Regions from separate parts of the Homo sapiens genome. Here regions 1 and 2 are each linked to region 3. Evidence: promoter capture Hi-C in 16 types of primary human blood cells and fetal thymus (Javierre and others, 2016). All regions are on one chromosome and are shown on one strand. Each heading gives the region's core, a stretch centred on a gene start or on the middle of the fragment in contact. The rest is flanking DNA. Distances are from core to core; before and after follow the strand shown.

Region 1 (2,817 bases), core at 1-2,500, 810 kb after region 3:
TTCCCCAGGTCAAAAACCAAATCCAGTAAGCTGTGAAGTCAGAGGCCAGAGGGGCAGCCTCGGCCACCGTCGAGTCACTCTTAGGCTGGGCACTGGGTCGGCTGCTGGTGGAGTGCGGGGCAGACCACTCCCCTCCCTGGGTGGGGGGCGCGGCCTGAGCCGCCCCGCCCCGCCCCGCTCCACCAGGTCGGGCCAGGCGGGCGCCGGGAGCTGGGAGCCGGGAGCCCAGAGTTCGGAACCTAGAGTTCGGAGCCGGCTAGGGAGCCGGCGTTGTCGCGGCGAGGAGGTGGGCGCGCTGGAGCAGGAGCGGGGCCGGAACTGGAGCCGAGGCGCAGGTGGCGCTGGGTGAGTGGTGGGGCGGCGGAGGTGCAGGAACTCCCGCCTCCCGCTCATCCCCGCTCCTGAACGAACTTTCCGCTTCTAGGGAAGCTAGGGGTTGGGGTGAGGAGGGGGGTCCGCACTTGGTGGGGTCCCCGCGAAGAGTCCGAACAGGGAAGTGACACGAAAACGCACGCCGACGGGCCCCACACACGCGTGCACAGACCCACGCCCGCACTTGGGACACGCGAACACACATGCACTCGGAAAGGACGCGCCCAGTTGGCCACCCTTGCACTCCCAGGGACAGCGCCAGCCGGCCCGCGCGGACCCACAGCGGGCAGGGCACTCTGCGGTCGCGTATTGGGTGCGGGAAAGGGGCAGCCCTGTGACTACCGACGGGGGCGGGCCGGGTGGGACGCACCCGGAGGTTCCTGCTTCCTGGCCTCCCGCAGGTGAAGACCAAGACGTAAACAGACGCCGAGCACGTGACAGCTCCGCAGACCAGTGGCCTGTGCCCCCAACCCAACCACGGGGCGGAAATCCACCCTAGTCCGGGGCGCGTTTGCTTGGTCCCAGGCCGGACGGCGTTCCATTCTCCGCCTGGAGCGGGGATAAGCCCTCTCCCGGGAACCGGAGCACAGCGCCCCCTGGAGCCGGGGCGGAGCAGGAGGGCCCGGCTGCTGGGCAGGGCTGGGGTTAACTCGGGCTCCTGGACGTCCTTCTCCCCAGCACATTCTTGGTGTCTGCATCCCTGAAGGTTTCGGAGACAGGCCCTTGATGGCAGTGGACAGCTGCCCCCGCCTGTTACCGCCAGCCCAGAGAGCAGCTGCCTGAGCGCCTGCGGGTCCCCTTCCTACCCTCACCTCCACTCCTTGCGGGAGTCGGAGTCTCCTCCCCCCAGAAAATGCATGAGTGTAAACGCTCCCTCAATACCAGAGTGGGCCTGCCCCCCTAGAAAAAGGAGGACGAGCCCCTCCCCCCAGGGAATGAGGGAGTGGGCAGTAGCCCGATGCCTCCTCCTCGCCCCACCCCCTACCCCTACACACACGCTGAGCCCAGCTGCCGCCTGAGCTGGGCAGGCTGCCAGAAAGAGGAGGAGGCTCTCGGTGCCCCAGGAGGCAGGGATCAGGGCAAGGCCAGAGGAGGGGGCTCTGCTGGGGAGAGGGGCTCAGTCTGTTCTTGTGAGGCTGAGGGTCTGGGGTGAGTCAGGGTGGCTGGGCTGTGTTTCCCTTTCCAGGGAAAAAGAAAGAAAAACAACCCTGTCCATGGAGCTAAAAATAGAGCTGAGAGCCGGCCAGGGCTGTGGCCTGGAAGGGGGGGATGCTCCTTCCTGGGGCCCGGGCGAGCTCCGGCAGGCCTTGGCCCTGCGGGGGAGGGGGTGGTTAGGGGAGAAAGGCTGCCTTTGCCCAGGGATGCAGGCATCAGCTGACCTGACCGGGTCACCGAGACCCCTAGGGGAAAGGCTGTGCGGTAGAATATTTGTGAAGCACGGCGTGTAAGAAGTTGTCTGTGTGAGTGACTGTGAATAGAGGCTGTCAATGCGTGAAAGATGGTTAGGAGACTAAGTGCACTTGAGACTGTGACTGGGTGCGAAGGACTGCGGATTGTTGTGGAAGCCTGTGCCCAACAGGCCTGTGACACCGTGTCTGTGTGTGAGGTGGACTGGAAGATTATGGAAAGAAGGAACGCGGACCCACGTGACGGCTGAGACTGCGGCTGCATGTGGGAAAGGTCTTGTGGGTGTTAGGGAGACTGTATTGTGTGCGAGAAGGTGAGACTACTTGACCCTGAGGAAGTGGAATATTGTCTGCCGTGAGGCTGGTGTAGGTTTGGGCTGTAGGCTTGCACCGGTTCGCCCCAGTGATTGTTGGGGAGCCAGGGGCCGCTCCTCTCCGATAAATGACCTCTCTCTTAGCAAGTGATCCCGAGGGGAGGCTGGGGAGCACGCGGTCGCGCCAGAGGCCGGCCTGGGTTCGCGGGGAAAAGGGCACCGTGCCGGGGAGTGGGGCAGGGCCCGCGTGTTGGGGGCGGCTGGGTGTGTTCTCCGAGCCGGCCGCCAGGTGGCGTCGCCTCCGCGAAGCCCAGGTTGCCGCCTCCAACCCGCCGTGGGGCAGGCGCGGATCGAGCCTCGGCCTCCTACTCGGGCTAGGGCGCGGGGTCCCGGCACCGGAGAGTGGGGGACGGCCGGCCATCGGCCTCTCGCTTGGGACTCTGAGGCTGAGAGCGTGTCAGGGAAGCTTCGCCTGGAGAAGCGGAGGGGGAGGGGCGGCCGCCGCCGCGCCGTGGCCCTTTGTGCTGGAACAATGACCAGCTGCCGCTGGCCCCGGGGCCCCGGCTGGGGTTGAGGGTGACCACCGCCGCCGCCGCGTCGAGCCGAACCGAGCCCCCAGACACGCAGTCACAGGGCGTCGGAGGGAGGGCTCCCGACTGCCGCCGAGCAGCCCCTACGTGCGCCCCGGCGGATTCGCGTGACGCGGGTGCTTGCGCGTGTCCGCG
Region 2 (2,700 bases), core at 96-2,595, 570 kb before region 3:
GTAAGGTACTTCAGATAGTGCTTGGCACACAAGATCACTGAATACTTATTACTAGATGCAAGAAAATCAAATAAGCTAATGTTTCCATTTCCTAATCTTTCACAGGTGAATATGTATAGATACCATTTACATCTGGAAATTGGAGATTTATCTCCCTCTGCTCTTCCCCTCTTTATTATATAAGTGGATATTTGCTTTACCACTTCAGAGCCAACAACAGCAGCTTGATGATAGGTGGGTACTTCGCCAGAGGATTTTGAGAAGGGTTCTGACTGTTTTGGGTTGCAGAATGTCCCCATAGATAAAGTCTGGCGCTTGCCTTTGAGGCCCAGAAAAGGAAACTGGGATTTATCTGGGCTCCCAAGCCTCTCCATTATAGCCATGGAAATAGCTGGTTGAATAACCATGATCCAGCAAGGCTACACTGACTTCTCATGGTCCCTCTCAAGGATATTTAAAGTCAACTTGACCCTGATAAGTAGCTGAGGATGGACAGGCCTGCATGTCAAAAGGCAATGTCAGCTTTCATTTGCAAACATTGTGGTTGCCCTTTAGGCTCCAACAACATGGATATCTGCCTCCAGTCTTAAAGACTGGGCTGCTTTTCCTCCCCACTCATCCACTTATTAAAAGAAGAAGGATAGCTGCTGGGGACAAGCAAACTGGGAAGTCTTTTCTGAAGGAAGAGATTTGAATTTTACTTTCATGCCTGCACAAAAGTGTTTAACATACTCACTGACACTAAATCATACTGGCCTCACCTAGTTCTTCCCTCTAAGTCATTTAAATCCCAGCATTAAGTGCAAGTGAAAATGAGCCTTCTAAAATAAGCTTTCGTATTGTTGACAACTCCTGAGCATTTTTTTCTCAAATCATTATTTCCTTAATAGAGGGCTTTCAGGCATAACTGCTATGTTGTATGACTAATTTTTAAAAAACAAAAATTCCAAAGTTTATGTAAATGAGTAAGAACTGTTCTTCAAAATAGTTACCTTGGAAGGCTACAATTGACTTATTCCAGCAAAGCTGTGGTTATGCAAAACCTTTCTGGAACTTCTCTTTCAGAGGTGTTTCCTCAACGGGTTTATAGGCCTCAGAAGTAAAGCAGTCTCCTTGCTTTCCAGTCCCACCTTATTTTGATGCCAAGCAGTATTACCCATTTTGACCTCCCACTTTATTCACCATATTTGATTCTGAATAGTCTTTGTTCTTGCAAAATCAATTCCATCTTGTCACAGGGCAAAGATTTGCCTCCCTTAAGGACATGCACCCAAATATTCTAGAAGCATTTTTAACAGGGATTTATAAAATGTTTATAGCAACAATAGCACTATGTAAATATATGGAGTAAGGAGATAACCTCCCGTTCTGTTATAATGGAACAGTGGTTAAATTGATAAGTTACAGTAATATTTCTAAGACAAATTATTACACTGTATTTTTCAAGCCATTACATAATTTTCACTGTTTTCATTGATCTGTTTTCCATTCAATACTCATCCAGAAAAACAGCATCCTAAACCCTGCACTCTACTCACAGTCTAAGTCTAGGGAGGTTACTCTGCAGCTAGATTATATTAACTTTTGGATATACGGCATTATTAACTCACAAGTCATTCAACCTAGAGTCTATACATATAATGTGTGCATCTTTTTTATTTATACTTGTTTTACATTTCAATGTTGTTACTTCTCTCTCATGGATTTTACAGTTTATTTCTATTTCTCCCAATTGACAAGGACATTTAACATTCTAATGTCCATTTTAGTCAAGTGCATTTACCCCGTTTTCAATGGATATGGCCCTTGTTAGGAGTTACCTTGTGTTAAAATACTCCTGCCAGTTTGCTGTCATTCACAAAGCTTAATGAGCGCTCCCCCCATTTCCTTATCCACATTCTAATGAAAAACATGAAACAGTACTGGAACCAAAGGGAAGTAAAAGGGATCTACTTTGCCTTTCCCAAGTTGATTCTCTCCTCCTTTTGAATACATAACACTTTCCTGATTTGAAGAGAAAACATACATCAAAAAGCTGCCAGGTCACTGTTTGACTATTACCCTTCACATGTAAAGGAGGCATCGGTCTTTGTCATATCAACAGTCCCCTCTAGTTTACCTCTCCCTCAATTCAGTCCTCACCTTTAATGGCTGGCACCTTTACTAATGTACAAGAATAAGAACTGTAAAGAACAATAATCTGTTTCTTTCTTCACCCAGCTTTCTTCAGAAGGACCTGACTTCAGTACACATAAATCATCCTGCTTGGTTGTGAATGCAATTAGTTTTACTTTCACAAGAATCGTGTCCTCTTGTTGATCTCTTTCCATTTTCTTCATACTTACATCTACTTTCTAATACCGTCACACTTCCTTTCTAGGCAACTTCTCCCTTTTTGCCAACTTCAGGTGGCCAAAGAAATATGCTATCAGTTTCATCTCTCTTGTTTGGAGGCTGATGTGCTCCCTGAACATACAGTCCTAATCCCAGCTCAATTTTCATGTTCAGGAAATAGGTGGGGTATCATGCTTGCTTCACAGAGAAACTGAAACCTATTCCTGAATACGATCTTTCCCACATTACTTCCAGTCTGGAATTCTGCATTCTCACTGCACAATGATTTCCAATCACTCATGTGTTAAGATTTAACATGTAAGTCCTTTATCTAGCTGAGAGATCCCAGATTCGGGTTCCTGCCCC
Region 3 (2,700 bases), core at 174-2,673:
ATTACTAATTCTTTGAGTCATTCCTTGAAATGTCCTTTCTCTGGTTTTACTGTCAGAAAGACAATGCTTTTAAACTGGAAGGAAATCTGGACTAATCTGTAATTTCTTATGTAGAGCTCCATCTGCTAAGATATACCATTAAAATTGCTCTTTTTCTAGGATTCAGGATGGATTTGAAAGTAGAAATATCAGTTTTGAGGGATAGTGGAAACAAGCAAAAAGTTGACGCTCTTTTTGAATACACCATTATCCCAATTTCTCCACAAACTGGCCTCTCTTACTAGTCTGTATCAAAAGGAACTTGTGGTAATTAGGCTGAAGGAAAAGCTAAGCGAGCTCAACAAGAGAGCAACAGCTCCCACACCACTCCTGTCCCCAACTTGAACAGCAACAGTAAGGAGGGAGGAGCATGGCCCATCAGTGTTGTGCTTATGTCCCTGGAGGTCCAGGGACATAAGCACCATCACAGTCATCATGGTGTTACAAGACGTAACCAGACACTGGAAGCTTTTAAATGAAAAAGTCTAAGAAACAACCATAAACATACAGCATCTACAGCGGCAAACTAAAGCCTGTACAGTTGAACGAACTATAATTTATCCATCTCTTCAGTTAGAGGTAGAGTGACTACTTCCTTTCTTCCTTCTTCATTTTTCTACAAATAATTGAGTTTGCTGTGTATAGGAATAACCGTAGGGAGACTTAATCTCTGCAACAAAACGAACATAGCACTAAAACTGTCCAACATCTGGAGGGTGCTCCGCAAAAGCCCGCTTCGACCCCCGTGCTCTCCCTAGAGATGGGACATGCGCCCCCGAACGTTGCAGAGGGAACAACTTCCCAGACTCCACTCTGGAGTACCCTTTTAATCTGCTCTAGAGCCCTAACTGACTGCACATGCCGCTCACCTGTAGTACACAGCCAGATGGCCCTCCTCAATCTTGTGGATGGAGGCGTAGAGCAGGACAGCCACCAACCCCACCACTGCAGCCACCAGAACCCGGGCTTGAGTCATATTCATTCTCGTTCCTCCTGGGAGCGGGAGAAAAGGACCCTCAGTCCCGTGAGTGACAGGTCCACCCCCTCCAGTTTCTACCCTCTCCCTCCGGAAACTTGGCGCTCTCTCGCAGGCTGAGCCGGGGAGTCCAGTACCCCTGTCCCCTCATTCTTCCCTTCTGGCTGAGCCCGCTGACCCCTTGCCAACTCCTCCGCCCCCGGAGGCCAGTGGGCCGCCCCTGCTCGGTGAGCTTCCTGAAACTCCCTCTCCCAAGGGTCGCTCCCGGGTGGAAGGCACTAACTGAGAAGAAGCCCAGCCGCAGGCTCGCGAGGAAAGCCGACCCCTCGGCCGCGCCTCACCGATCAGTGACGCATCGCCCCCGCCCGCACGTGCAGCCGACTCCCGCGCCGAGCCAACCGCCGCCAACAGCCGGCCCCGCCCACTCGCCCAGCACTGCGGCTGCGCGGGGACGCACACGGCGTAGCCCCGGCCCGCGGCTAGTGAGACGGGGAGCGCATGGGACAAAATTCTCCTAGCCGCGGGCCGCGCAGGCTCCTTTGGAGGCAAGTCGCTTTCTGTACACTGCTGGTTAACTGCTTCGGAAGAGGACAGCCCGCAGTCTGGAGTGAGCAGCGAAGCAGAGAAAAGGAGACGCCCTTTCGGACAAGGGACTGGTTGGTTTGTTCTTGTGCAGAGAACCCACTCGCTCACTCTCAAACGGTAGCTGTTCGGTTTATTTGTCCTTTTGCAGTGTATGCGGAGCCCCACTGTGTGGCACGCACTTGCTTCCGGCAGAGATCCTGCCCTTCAGGAGCAACTAAACTTGTTGCAAATAAAGTGCTGTGAAAGTTCAGAAGAGGAAGATATTAGATATAACGGCATCATTCTCTCGTTTTTTAAGTGTTCCTATTATGTGCCAGAATGCTGGTCCAGTGAGGGCTTTATGAAGGCCATCCAGACTACAGGAACAGAATTGCTAAGCACATGGGGCGGGAGGCGGAGGGAATCCTCCAGGGAGACCAAAGTAAGTACTTCAGTTTCCTTGAAGGCTTGTGTGATGGGAAGGAGTGCTATGGTAGGCGTCACTACATATTCTGTTCGTTTTAAATTAAAAAACCATGGGCACATATTGCCAAAAATAAAAAAGGGAAGGAAAAAGGTATAGTTGGGAGATAGATGAATACAAGAGAAATTAAGGACATTAATGGTTTAAGCCTTGAAAGGCTAGAGGTGGAACTATAACTGGACAAGGTGGACTAGGGTTGTAAAGTCCTCTAACCCAGCGGACGGGGTGGGGGTGTGTGTGGGTTGGGGATGAAACTGTTCCACTTCAGATCATCAGGCATTAGATTCTCACAGGGAGCCGGCAAACCTCACATGTGCAGTTCACAATAGGGTTCGCGTGCCTATGAGAATCTGATGCCACTCGCTAATCTGACAGCAGGCAGAGCTCAAGGCGATAATGCTCACTCGCCCGCCGCTCACCTCCTGCTATCCGGCTTGGTTCCTAACAGGCCACTGTCTGGTTCCGGTCCGCGGCCCAGGGCTTGGGGACCCCTGCCCTCTTGGGTAGGGAAGTATGGGAAAGCAGTGCTTTAGGGCCAATGAATCTATAAAACGGCTGAAAGTGGAGACAGACTGTTGGCAAGGAAGTCAAGTGGTTAGGAAACTGCAGGCCCAGGGTTACTTAGTAGTGGAAGTAA

Evidence for each region. The method cuts DNA at HindIII sites, captures the fragments that hold promoters and counts their contacts. A CHiCAGO score of 5 or more calls a contact.
Region 1: a contact is called between a fragment that was not itself captured here and the fragment with the promoter of ERLIN1 in region 3, in 1 of 17 cell types (fetal thymus). The highest score is 5.0, in fetal thymus.
Region 2: a fragment that was not itself captured here is called in contact with the fragment with the promoter of ERLIN1 in region 3 in 1 of 17 cell types (fetal thymus); the score reaches 5.3 in fetal thymus.

Annotation. Positions count from the first base shown.
Region 1 is chr10:100,996,890-100,999,706 of GRCh38, forward strand. It overlaps a transcript of LZTS2 not described here. Among named protein-coding and RNA genes, the nearest start is that of LZTS2, 1.5 kb to the right of the region's middle. RefSeq lists an enhancer at 1-7 and silencers at 91-380, 2,171-2,580, 2,681-2,817. The HindIII fragment of the contact is 2,612 bases long and covers 1-2,556 here.
Region 2 is chr10:99,616,897-99,619,596 of GRCh38, forward strand. All of the region lies in intron 1 of SLC25A28 (solute carrier family 25 member 28), which reads right to left. Among named protein-coding and RNA genes, the nearest start is that of SLC25A28, 2.2 kb to the right of the region's middle. The HindIII fragment of the contact is 1,032 bases long and covers 830-1,861 here.
Region 3 is chr10:100,184,606-100,187,305 of GRCh38, forward strand. ERLIN1 (ER lipid raft associated 1) reads right to left here and starts at 1,424. Exons shown (of 11, transcript NM_006459.4): 1 at 909-1,424. The coding sequence starts at 1,021. It also overlaps a transcript of CHUK not described here. RefSeq lists a silencer at 1,322-1,471 and an enhancer at 1,642-1,791. The HindIII fragment of the contact is 3,606 bases long and covers 506-2,700 here.